Linked DNA regions of Homo sapiens: regions 1 and 3 are each linked to region 2. The links are contacts of gene promoters, found by promoter capture Hi-C in human tissues and cell types (Jung and others, 2019). All regions are on one chromosome and are shown on one strand. Each heading gives the region's core, a stretch centred on a gene start or on the middle of the fragment in contact. The rest is flanking DNA. Distances are from core to core; before and after follow the strand shown. Region 1 holds the start of GATA1 (GATA binding protein 1). Region 2 holds the start of OTUD5 (OTU deubiquitinase 5). Region 3 overlaps LOC105373195 (a long non-coding RNA gene).

The links. Contacts are between HindIII fragments. The study calls those that stand out against the background at their distance.
Region 1: the fragment with the promoter of GATA1 here is called in contact with the fragment with the promoter of OTUD5 in region 2 in 1 of the 25 tissues and cell types used here (pancreas).
Region 3: a fragment that was not itself captured here is called in contact with the fragment with the promoter of OTUD5 in region 2 in 1 of the 25 tissues and cell types used here (dorsolateral prefrontal cortex).

What each region holds. Positions count from the first base shown.
Region 1 is chrX:48,784,269-48,788,600 of GRCh38, forward strand. GATA1 (GATA binding protein 1) reads left to right here and starts at 2,322. Exons shown (of 6, transcript NM_002049.4): 1 at 2,322-2,377. RefSeq lists cis regulatory regions at 349-1,009, 1,449-2,569. The HindIII fragment of the contact is 13,466 bases long and covers 1-4,332 here.
Region 2 is chrX:48,955,168-48,959,620 of GRCh38, forward strand. OTUD5 (OTU deubiquitinase 5) reads right to left here and starts at 2,440. Exons shown (of 9, transcript NM_001136157.2): 1 at 1,810-2,440. The coding sequence starts at 2,403. It also overlaps the pseudogene RNU6-722P. RefSeq lists silencers at 2,057-2,116, 2,487-2,536, 2,737-2,896 and an enhancer at 2,997-3,186. The HindIII fragment of the contact is 5,335 bases long and covers 732-4,453 here.
Region 3 is chrX:49,140,773-49,144,868 of GRCh38, forward strand. LOC105373195 (a long non-coding RNA gene) reads right to left here. Exons shown (of 3, transcript XR_007068230.1): 3 at 1-4,096. Among named protein-coding and RNA genes, the nearest start is that of GPKOW, 19 kb to the left of the region's middle. The HindIII fragment of the contact is 3,834 bases long and covers 772-4,096 here.

The sequences.
Region 1 (4,332 bases), core at 1,072-3,571, 170 kb before region 2:
CTGAAAGAGGCGTTCTCGAATGTTCTCATCACAAAGAAAAGATAAATGTTTAAGGTGATGAATATGCTAATTACCTTGATTTGATCACTACACAATGTATACATGTAACAAAACATCATGTTTTACCCCATATATATGTACAACTATTATGTGTCAATCATAAATTTAAAGAAATAAAATTAGTTTTAGTGTCAGTATCAATATTACAATATTGGTATTACTCTTAGTGTCAGCATATTATTAGCATTAGTACTATAAGTAGTAGTAGGGTTAGAAAGGGCTATGTACTCTCCCTTGTATGCAGTAGGTACTCAATAAATAAATAGGGGTACTTAATATTTATTGAGATTTCAGATTCAAGTAAGTTAAGATCATGTAACATGGGTTAAAACTCATTTAGTCTCCCCAGTCACTGCATGGAGTGGCTTATTGGGGTATATTATTACCCCATTTTTACAGATGAGGAGCTAAATTCCAGAGGGGATGGTAACTCTCCCAAGGTCACCTGATCCATTAGTGGTTAGGGCAGTCTATGAACGAGGATGAGCTGGCTCTAGAGACCATCTCCTGAAACCACTGCCACTTAAGTCAGAGGTGTCTTTGTATTCGTTCTCCTTATTACTGATGAGGGTTCAGCATGGGGCGTGGCACACCAGCAGGAGCTCAATAAATAGGAATTCATGGGCTTGCTCTCTTTCCTCCTCAAATCTCCCATTGCATATGAGGACACTGAGGCTCAGAGGAGTGAGATAAGAATGGTAAGATCCCTCCAGGGTGGGCCAGTGGGCAAGCTGACCCCACTGACCTGGGGCTCCACCCTTGGCCTCTGCCCTTTGTAGGTCTCAGTCTCCCCATCTGTAGACTAGGTGGGCAGGACAGCTCCTTGTCCCACGTGTGCATGTGTGTCAGATGCTTTCATATAGAAAAAGTGCTCAGGTTAGGTACAAGTCTATGTGAGGTCTATGAGACACTGTGGTTGTTGTCATTAATATTTGGAGGAGGTGGGGCAGGGCAAGAGTGTGGGGACTGGGGTGCGGAGGCCTAGCCACATTCTGGTTGTCCCCTGCTGAGGGCTGAGGGCAGAGCCACAGGCTACATCAATCCACATCCTCCCATCCTACCTGCATGGGCACCACATGCCCAGGGTGTGATCCAGTCTGCCTGGACCTTCTTCTGAGTCTGTCTCTGAATATCCCTCTGTCTCTGTCTCCCTTCTCAGTTCTCCACTTCTGTCTTTGGCCTCTTTCCCTTTCAGGTTTTATCTGTCACTTCTGTCCATCTCTGTCTCTCATTCTCTCTTTGCCTCTCTCTATATGTCTTTAATGGTCTCTGGTTCTCCCCGGGTGTCTCGCCCTCTTTGTCTCTCCTTTTCTTTTGTGCCCTCTCTCTGCCTCTTTCCACGTCTGTCTCCTTCTCTATTCATCTCTGTCACTCTCTTTCTCCCCATTTCCATCTCTCTCCGCCTATCTCTGTTTTTGTTTGTCTCTCTGCCTCTGTCTCTCCCACTCCACCCCTTTCCTTTCCTACCCTATACCACTCCTCGAGGAATCATCCCTGGCTCCCACCTCAGTTTCCCGCCTCCAAGGCAGCATGGCGGGCAAGAAGTTGAGGCCACTGTCCCTGGGTGTTCCTACCCCCACACCCTCACCCCAAGACAGCCTGTTACTGCGGCGCCAACAGCCACGGTCGCCTACATCTGATAAGACTTATCTGCTGCCCCAGGGCAGGCCGGAGCTGGCGTAAGCCCCAGTGGGGCGCTAAGTGAGTGTGCCCCTGCCTCCCGCCAGCACTGGCCTGGCCTGCAGGCTTAGCCTGGGTCATCAAGGTATCCCACAGGCTCTAGTTCAAATCCAGCAGAACCTCTCTGAGCCTCACTCTTCTCACCTGCAAAATGGGTACAGCCACATCCCTTCTCTCCCTGCAGCCAGGAAGACGCACATACACAGGAGTCTAGCCCACACCGGCCCCGCACAAATTAAGGGCTTTACTCTCTGAAAAGCCCAGTGAAGTCATGAAACCATATCTGCTATTTTCATTTATCTTGGTTTCAGCCTATTTTGCTTGTCTGGACACTACAGTCCACGGGAGCCTAGGTCGAGCGAGGTCCAAGAATCCCCAGGGTGGGCAGGGAGGGTGGAAGAGGGCCTCCAGTGCCCAAGAGGTGCCCCACAAGCATGGGACCCGCCCCCTCCCCTGGACTGCCCCACCCACTGGGGCACCAGCCACTCCCTGGGGAGGAGGGAGGAGGGAGAAGGGAGGGAGGGAGGGAGGGAGGAAGGGAGCCTCAAAGGCCAAGGCCAGCCAGGACACCCCCTGGGATCACACTGAGCTTGCCACATCCCCAAGGCGGCCGAACCCTCCGCAACCACCAGCCCAGGTCAGTCTCAGCCCCCAGAGAGCCCCCACCAAGGCAACCCTGGGCCTGCTGCCCCTACCCTTATGCTTGCTCCAGGCTCCCCAACCCACAGCTGGTCCCCAAAGTGTCAGCCAGCCCTGAATCCCTTTACAGCTCCTCCAACCCACCTGTCTTTCCAACTCCCATTTCTACCCCAAATCTACCCCCTAAACCCCACCTCTTTCTGCCCTCTCATCCACTCCGTCCAAGATATCTATATCCTCTGGATCCCTTCACTTTGCTCGCTATACCCCTAGGTCTGTCTCCCCTAAACACTAACTCTGTCTCCCAAAACATGACTTTATCTCCCCAAATCCTTTCCCTGTCCCATATCTGATTTCCACTCACCCAAACTTGTCTCTGTCTCCCTGACTTCTCCTCCAAACCTCACTTTTCTGCTCCCAAACCCCTTATCTGCTCTACAACGCCTTGTCTTTGCCCCACTCTCTCTGAGCCCCCAAACCTGTCTCTGATCTGCCAAACCCTAGCTCCATCCTCTTACCACCATCTCTGCCTTTCAAACCCACTCTTTGTTCCCAATGACTTCTCTCTGATCTCCGCAAACCATTTATCTCTCCCAACTCCCTGCCTGCTCAGTAAAATATCTTTGTCACTTCAAACACCAAGTCAACTCCCCAAAATCTGTTCTGCCGCATGAACCCTCATGTCTGCCTTCCCCAAACCGTATCTCAGCCCTAAAACACATCTCATTGTCTCCCTGAATCTCTCCAGCTCCAAGCCTTTCTCTACTCCAATTCTATCTTGGCTTCTCAAACTCCCCTTTACTAGCCACATTCTGTCTGCCCAAACAGATCTTTGACTCCTAAACTCCATCTCTCCTCCAGAAAAACCCTTGAACTCCCCAGACTTTTCTATGACCCTCAGAATCTGACTCCCACACTACTTCTCAACTTTATTTCTGACTCTCAAACTTCGCCCCGATCCCCCAACCTCGTCTGTTTTCACAACCTATTCCTGAGCCCAAAATGTGTCTCTGAACTTCCAAGCTCGTCTCTGCTCCACAACCCCGCCCATATCTGCCTCCCCACAAACTCCATGGCTACACCCCAAACCTCTCTGACTTAACCCCATATCTGACCTTCAAATTCCACCTCTATCTCCCCCTAAGCCCCATATCTGCCCCCTAGACCTTATATCTGCTCCCTTCAGCCCGGTGAGACCCTCCCTTGAGGGCTGGGATTGGAACGTTACCTGGGGTGAGGGGCTGGGGCCGAGGGAGAGTGGAGGGTGCCAGCTGCTGCCTGCTGCCGCCGTTGGGGCAACACTTACTCTAGTGGGGCAGCTGATAAGGAGCTTTCATATCCCCCAGCCTCGAGATAAACTTTATCTCTGTCCGGAGAGTGATAACTGGGGGTGAGGAGGCTGGGCCCCTGCCATGGGAGGGGTGGGCAGCCCTGGACTCACCAACGTGTGAGGTGCAGGGGTTGGGGGCAGTGGGGCTGGAGGGAGATCATGGTGGGTAAGGTGGAGTTGAGGGGATGAGGGAATAGTGGTGAAAGAGTGAGCAGAAGACACACAATGAGACAGGGAAGAGAGGGAGAAACAGGGAGAGATGGGAAGAGAGAGACAGAGACACAGAGACAAAGAGCAAGAGACAAAAGAGACATGAAGAGAAAGGAAAAACAGAGAGAGAGAAACTCAACGAGTAAGAGACAGAGACAGACAGATGGCCGGAGAAAAAGAAGGAAAGACCCGGGAGCAGAAAAGGAGATAGAAATGCAGAGATACACGCAGGTAGCACTGTGAAGAGGCAGAGACTAACACAGAATTAGAGACAGAGAGGAAAGAGATGGAGACCAAGATGGGGAAGCAAAACACTCTCTTCAGAGAGCAACAGCAGGCACCCTGGGGCTGAGAAGGTGTTGGCGGTGGGCACACTTGTGGCCCATCTCTTTCCTAGCATAACTCCCAAGCCT
Region 2 (4,453 bases), core at 1,190-3,689:
GGGAGTCTAAGGCCCAAGTCCCCGAGGCAGGAAGTCTTATGTCCCTAAATGACCCCTAAGACTAGGGTGTATGTAAGTTGTCTGAGGTGAGGTGACAGTACCCTCAGGGCAGGTTCAGAAATCAGGTCCTAAGGTGGGGAACAGGCCTTCACACACCTGAGTTATGATTCAAACCCTTGGAGGTAGACTCAGGACCCTGTTCCACAGGGATCCTTTATCCATGCCCCAAGGGAAGAGTCTCAGGGCTCAGGTCTGGGGGGAGGAGTCCTCCTGTTTCTCAGGTGTACATCTTAAGTTCCTTGAGGAGGAAGCTCAGACCTTACCTCTAGACACACAAGTCACCAAGGTATGTATGAGTCTCCTGTCCCTGAAGGAAAGCTCAAGTGTCCTTGGCAGAGTGGGTCTCAGGCCCTTAAAAGTAGGCAAAGATCTGTAGGGAGGCCCCAGACATCATCTCTGGGATCCCATGTTGCCCATGTCCCCTGAGTAGTCGTCTCAGGCTCAAGTTCCCAAGGCATGGGTCGTATGTCCCTGACAAAAAGCTTAGGCCCAAGGTGGGAGGGCCTCAAACCCCTGTTACAGAGGGGAAAATGGGATACTGTATCCCCAAGGTATGTTTCAGTTCCTTATAATTGGGGTAAAAGGGTCACATATGCTCGTGGGGTGGGGAGTCTCAGATCCCCAAAACCACTCAGACACCAGCCTTGAGAAGAAGGATCTCCTAAAGACTTCACCTTGTCTGAGACCTTTGCAGCAGGACACCAGGCCCCTGAAGAGGCCTCAGACTCGGTCTCTAAAAACCTCAGTCCATAAGCAGGTGGATCTTAGGCCCTAGGATCCAACGCTGTGAGTCTCATTTTCCTGAAGAAAGGTTCAGGCCCCTGGTGGGGGTGCTGAGGGCCCATCTCTTCTTACAAGAAGCTTAAGATCCTGAAGCGGTTCAGGCCCTTGTCTCCCAAGAGGTAGGTCTCAGGCCACTGATAGGAAATGCAGACCTTTGTCACTCAGAAAGGAGATAAGTAAAGCTGCTGGTCATTGGGTGTTGGTTTTGGTCCCTGTCCCCAAGGGCAAGGGAATCATATCTCCCTGTGAAAAGTCTTACATCCCTGGAAAAAGCTTAGAAGATCCCTATCCTTAAAGGGGGCGTGTGTGTGTGTGTGTGTGTCAGGACCTTGATTCTAGAAGCAGGACTCTCAGGCCCCTGAAGACAGACTTAGGACCCTTGAGGTCTCAGGTCTGGCTATTCAGTGGTCCTGTGCAGTGTTACCCAGCGAAGCGGGAGAGGATTGTCCTATATGCAGAGTGTCTCAGACTCTTGAAAGGGCTTAGGCTCCTTGGGGATGTTCAGCCCCGATCTCCGAGGTCTCCACCTTATTTGACTTTCCTGGAAGGGGAATCTCAAACTTCTATCCCAGAGGAAAAGAGCTCTTAAGCCACTGAACACATACCTAAGTCTCTTGGGAGACCTGAGACTCCTACTCAAGAGGGGCGCGATCCTACCTGTATCTCTTGGAGAATTCCCACCTATTGGCCCTATATGATGAGGTCCCAGGGACTGGAATGACGACTATAGACCTTAAAAGAGACCTCGGATCTTTAAGTCTGACACCTTACCGTAGGCCTCTAGCCCCAAAATCCTGGAGGGGAGGAAAGAAGGTGTCTCACATCCCTACCGCCAGAGAAGACTGTCAGGCCCAGTGAAAACGCCTAGATCCCTTGGGGCGATCTCAAACAGCCTTCCTTGAGTCCCTTCACAGTCTGGGGGTCCCATCTGCCGTGGCCGCTCACCCCTCACCCCACAGCTCTTACCTGCTCGACAGTGGCAGGGTCCATAGCCTCGATGCGTGCTGCAGCCGCCTCATACTCGTCCTCACTGTTGTAGCCTGCGCCGACCTCCTCACGCTCGGGACTGCCCCCGCCAACCGCGCCAACCCCGGGAGCTTGACGTCGCCGCTTGCTGTGCCCAGGCCCGGAGCAGCAGCCGCCCACGCCTACGGCACCACCCACACCCACCACCACGCCCGCGGCACCCACACCCGCCGCCGCTGCGCCCAGCGCGTCGCCGGGACCGCCGCCGGGACCACCTGGGCCCCCGCAAGGAGGTGGAGAAGCCTGTTGTGGCCGGGGACCCGCCACTGCACCAGGCGGCACGGCCAGCGCCCAGCGATGAAGAGCGCCCGGCGGTCCTGGTAGCGGGCCTTGAGGCGGTGGCGAAGCTCGCGGACGGGCCCCCACGACGCCGGAGTCACGGTCGCGATCGCCGCCGCCCACGCCCGTGCCGCCGCCGCCCACGCCCACACCTCCGCCGCGCCGCGGCGCCGGGGGCATCGGCCCGGGCGGCGGCGGCTCGTTGGCGGGGTCGGCGTCGGGAGGCGGCGGCTTCTTTTTGGGGAGTATAGTCATGGCTGCACTGCCGAGTACCCCCCAACAAACCCGGCGCGGGGCACGCCGGGAGAGAACCCGGATGAGGGGGCTAGTGTAGTGCGCGAGGCACGACGGGAACGGCGAGACCCGGATAAAGGGATCGCGGCACCGGTTCGAGAACCCTCGGCGGCGGAGGAGGCGGCGGCGGCGGCGGCGGCGGTGGCGGCGCGCGGGTCACGCCGAGAGGAGAACCCGGATGTAAAGTCCAAGATGAAGGCAGTGCGGCGAGTTTGTCTTAGCCTTCTCTCCAAGTCCAGCAAGTTTATTGCTACGCTTGTTCCGGCCTTCTGCTTCAAAGGAAACAGAACCAAAACAAGCACCTCTTCGCTCCGCCCCCTCGCAGGTTCTTGCACTACCGGGTGGGGCCCCGGGGCGCTGCGCACGCGCGCCAGGGCACAGCCCCGCCCCTTACTCGGAAGTACGTGGGCAAAATCGCCGCCGCCGCCGCCACAACAATTGCAACACCAACCAATTGAGCAGCTGCGTGGGACCTCGACGACGCCCACGGGCCAATCACAGGCGAGTGCTCGCCCTCCGGTGCCCTCCGTCTCAAATTTCAGTCAAAGTCGACACCCTGGTTCCCAGCCTTTCTCCCCGTCAGTTCCGTCTTGCTCTTCACTTTTCTCCCCGAAGCTCTGACCTGCAGGCGTCGGTACTGCGGACGGACAGCGTGGCCTGTCCCACGTACGACAGGAAAAACACCTCCCCTCCAGGATTCCAACTTGAACGCTGTCAGCCGGAATGACTGGAAAACATCAACACTCCCGGGAGCATAGCTGGCCCCTGTAGCGTCACTTCCGGTCCCACCCACCTACAAATACCCTTCCGGGGGAGGCGGACACCGCTTCGCCCCGGCAACAGCCTGAGTTCTGCGGTGATTGGTTAAGAGACGCCGTCACTCGCGGCATACCGACCAACCTTGGGACAGACAGGCGCCGTGGGGACAGTGGTTGTTTGGGAAACAGACACGCCTTCTCTGGCACCACAGCACTCTCGGCCTCGCGTTGACCTCCCCGCCCCTATGGCTAGTGCGCAGGCGCGGCCCAGCCTTTTTTTTTTTTTTTTTTTTTTTTTTTCCTAATTGAGACAGGGGTCTCACTCTGTCGCCCAGGTTGGAATGCAGTGGCGCGATCATAGCTCACTGCAAACTCCAACTCCCAGGTTCAAGCGATCCTCCCGCCTCAGCCTCCCGAATAGCTGGGACCACAGGCGCGCACCACTACGACCGGCTAATTTTTTTTTCACTTTTTTGTAGGGACAAAGTCTCACTATGTTGCCCAGGCTGATCTCCAGCTCCCGGGCTCAAGCGATCCTCCCGCCTCGGCTTCCCAGAGTGCTGGGATTACAGGCGTTAGTCACCGCGCCTGGCCAAGCCCAGCCTTTTTCTAAAACTGAGTTTGCTTGGGTCGATCGAGGTTTATGAAAGCTCTGTCACCAGTCAGCGTCTCAAAATGGGGTTGGCAGAATCCCTGCTATTGAGTAGCTGGAGAGCTACACGCTAATCCTAGCTCTGCCCTTCCTGTCTGAGTGATCTTTGTCAGTCATTTAAAACCCACCCCGTCCTCAATTTTTGTTGTTGTTGTTTACTTTTTTATAGAACGCTTCACGTATTTGCGTGTCATCCTTTCGCATAGTGCCATGCTAATCTCTGTATCGTTCTAATTTTAGTATATGTGGTGCGAAGTGAGCACCCATCCTTAATTTCTATTCTATAAATTGGCAATAATTCTAATCCGAGGATCAGAGATTAATGCTTGTGAAGGGCCTGGTGCTGTGCCCAGCACATAGGAAGTGTTCAATAAAGTAGTCTGCATGGTGGTGCAGTGGAAGGATCCCAGGCTTTGGAGCCAGAAAGACCTCAGTTCCAGGCACAGATGGACCATTACCAACTGTATGACCTTGAGCAAGTCATTGTGTCACTTTTGAGATTACCCATGTGTAAAACAGGAATGATAATACCTGCCCAGACTACCTCAGGGAATGGTTATGGGGTTCAGATGAGCTGATGAACCAAGAAGGTATTTGGAGT
Region 3 (4,096 bases), core at 1,439-3,938, 190 kb after region 2:
GTGTAGGCTCTGTGCCTACATATCCAGTATAGTCCAGCGGGAGCCATCCAGTCTTGATGAGATTGTGGATGGGCCTAAGCAGTCTGTAATTTAGGAAATTTACTGAAGGGATTATTTTCAGTATGGTTTAGACCCCACCAGGTGACTGTCCCTGTGTCCCTGTTATGCTTTTATACAGCTTCTGTCCTAGACAATTGAGCCTTCCTACAGGGATGGTGAAGTCTTTTCCTTTTCTAGGTATGCAGTATTGTCCATTAATAGAGGTTTTCAAGACCCAAAAGTTGCTAGTTTGGGCCTTCTGGACTGGAATTATGTCAGGAACTGGATCAGTAGGCACTAATTCTTGGGTTTCCCAAGGCCATCAGTCTCCCATAGTGGTTCCCTCACATACATAACAGGAAGTAACATTGAGGGAATGAGCTACATATTCTGCTAACTGGAGAAACAAGTTCTTTGTCCTTTTTTGTGGAAGCTCTGGTGCTGGCAGATTCAGCTCATCATAAAAGGTCTGAAACACTGGTTTGGAAGATCGCTTGTGGACCTCCCCTTGGACTAAAATATTTACTCAGGGATCCAGTCCAGTTCCATCGATTCCTAGAGTTACATACTCTCCTGTTTTCCAGCAGGGATCAAGGGGATTGGTAATTAGTAGTTCAATGGGTTACAGTGACCACTAGTGCAGGAAGAGTTACTCTTTCCTTTTTGAAGGCGGACAGGGTCCTTCTCATCTTTTTTTCCAGGTGGCCTAAATGACACAGGACCAGTAACTACATTCATCACTTCACAGTCCTAATTCATGACAAACATACTTATTTTCTACTATATAGCCCCTTTCCCAATCTAGAGAGCCACATCTTATTCTATTTCCATATGGGTCACTGTTGATTGCTGCACAGGCATCAAATTTTAAGATAATTTGTTTGGGGACTCCTTTCTCTTCTGTTCTAGTTATTACTTTACTAGTATCAGCTTTTCCCCAGCTGCCAGTCCTCGATCTTATTTCAAAAACAGTAGTCATAGGGGGGCTCAGATGGGTTATAGTACACATCAGACTGGTCACTTCCTGGGCTACATACCTTGTATAGAGTAGCATTATACAAACAAGTTCCTTTTAGAGTCCCAGTACACTCATACTAACTATAAAATAATAGGACTGCAGCAACCTTTTGTCCTACCTTAGTGACTTGATTTTGTCCTACCTTAGTGACTGGGAACAGTTCTCAGTCTGAGGAAGGTCAGCTGAAGTCCTTACTGTACAAGTCCAAAATTTAAGGAAAATGAGTCCCACGATGAGTTTTCTCATGCTTTGGCCATGCGTGGACCAGTCAGCTTCTGAGTGTGACTGGAGCAGGGCTTGTCATCTTCTTCAGAGTCACTTTGCAGGGGTTATCTAGGCTTGGTCTCACCTCCCAGGTCTCAGGTGCTGCAGGTTTTACCTGGCTGTGTTGGATCCAGGCTGGGATTCCCTCTATCTTTACGGCTGTGGGAGTGGTCAAGATGATGGTCTGGGGTCCTTTCCACCGTGGCCGCAAGGAGCCTATGTTCCAATCCTTGATCCACACCTGATCACCTGGGGAGAAAGGGTGAACTGGGGAGAATAAGCTGCCGGGGCACCTCTCATTTACCCAGGCTGAAATTGTGTAATTTTCCCTAAAGCCTGTAGCTGTCGCTGTAACGCAATTTCACCTAGCTCTCGAGGAGTGCCTGGGAGTCCCCGTAGTATGGGAGGGGGCCTATGATATAATATTTCATAAGGGGAATATCCTGTTCTTCTAGAAGGGGTACATCTAATCTTAAATAATACCATAGGGAGAGCTTGTACCCACTTTAATCCTGTTTCTTGACACACTTTCCCTAAACTATTTCCGATAGTGCGATTCATCTGCTTCACCTTTCCGGAACTTTGTGGTCAGTAGGTGGTATGTAGTTTCCATGTGATCCCCAATACCTTTGCTGTCTTCTGTAACAAGTCAGCCACAAATGCCGGCCCGTTGTCTGAGCTGATTTGTAAGGGCAGTCCAAACCTAGGGATGAGATCTCGGAGAAGCACATGGGTTACTTCACGAGCTTTCTCGGTCCGTGTTGGATAGGCCTCCACCCACCCAGAGTATGTACACACTAGAACTAGCAAATACTTGTTACCTCCACATTTGGGCATCTTGGTGAAGTCTACTTGGAGATCTTCAAAAGGGGCTGCTCCATAAGCTTGTATGCTGGCGGGGATGGTTAGACCTTGCCTAGCATTGTGCTGCCAGAAGGTGACACACTGCTGCGCCACTGTTTTGGCAAGGGCTGAAAGATGCAAGATGTAGAAGTACCAGCCTAACAACTTTTCAAGTGACTCTTGGCCTAGGTGGGTGGTCTCATGCACAGCCAGTATGACTGCGGCTCCTAGCAGTTGTGGCACAGCTATTCTTCCATCCGATAACTGGATCCATCCCTCTTCTATCACCTGCCCTCCCTCTGCCTGGAGAAAGTCCTTCTCTTTAGAATAAGTAGGTACAAGGTCAGGTGCCTGAGGGAGCAGGGGGCTGTGACTGATGCCTGGTAGGGGGTGGATGCTGCTTTTCGAGCCTCTGAGTCAGCTTGGGGGTTCCCCAAGGCAATCGAGGTAGAAGCTCGCTGGTGTCCTCTGCAGTGCATGAGCCACCTTTTGGGGCTTCCACACTGCCTCTAATAATTGCAGGATCTCTTGCTGATACTTTATGTCTTTTCTCCCAGCGTTCAACAGGGCTTTTTCCTTGTAGAATGCCCCACGCAGTTGGAGAGTTAAAAAGGCATACCAAGAGTCAGTGTAAATGTTTACAGTCTTACCTTCACTTAGCTCAAAGGCCAGAATTAAAGCAATGAGTTTGGTCTTGCGGGCTGAAGTGCCCTAGGGCAACGATTTGGCTTCAATGACAGCATCCAGGATTACCATATCCTACACACCTCTCTTCTTGTGGGTCGACAAAGCTGCTCCCGTCCACGTACAGCTCCCAGTCTACTGTTGTCCAAGGATGGTCTCGGAGGTCGGGCCTGCTAGAATAAACTGACTGCAACACCTCTACACAGTTATGTTCAACTTGGCTCTCTGATACCAGGAGCAAGGTGGCGGGGTTCAGGGTGTTGCAAACTTCAATGGTTATGCGGGGATTCTCACAGAGCAAGCTTTGGTACCTAGTTAGTCTAGCATTCGTTAGCCAGTTACGTCCTTTGGTGTTCATTAGTGTTACCACAGCATGGGGAGGCCTTTATGTTTTTTCTTTTTTTTGAGATGGAGTCTCACTCTGTTGCCCAGGCTGGAGTGCAGTGGTGCGATCTTGGCTCACTGCAAGCTCTGCCTCCCGGGATCACGCCATTCTCCTGCCTCAGCCTCCCGAGTAGCTGGGACTACAGGCGCCCGCCACCATGCCCGGCTAATTTTTCTGTATTTTTAGTAGAGATGGGGTTTCACCGTGTTAGCCAGGATGATCTCGATCTCCTGACCTCATGACCCGCCCGCCTCAGCCTCCCAAAGTGCTGGTATTACAAGCGTGAACCACCGTGCCCAGCTAGGGGGCCTTTATGTTTAGGTTTTGCCCTAAACATAAAGTTAGGGCAAGAGGTAGCTTATCTGCCTCTAGTGCTAGCAGGGCAGTTGCTGCCAAGGCTCTTAAGCACAGGGGCCAGGCTCAATTATCGACAGATAATTCTTGTCGATACTGGTGCTGAACATTCAGTAGTAACCACCCCAGTCGCCCCCTTATCCAAAAAGACTATTGATATAATTGGAGCCACGGGGGTTTCGGCAAAGCAAGCTTTCTGTTTGCCCCAGACCTGCACTGTCAGGGGGCATGAGATAATTCACCAGCAATTCATCCTGCCTGGACTTTCTCCAGGCAGAGGGAGGGCAGGTGATAGAAGAGGGATGGATCCAGTTGTCGGATGGAAGAATAGCCATGCCACAACTGCTAGGAGCCGCAGTCATACTGGCTGTGCATGAGACCACCCACCTAGGCCAAGAGTCACTTGAAAAGTTGTTAGGCTGGTACTTCTACATCTCGCATCTTTCAGACCTTGCCTTAGAAACTCCATCTAGCTCTTTGGAGAGGTAGGCTACCGGTCTTGGCCAGGG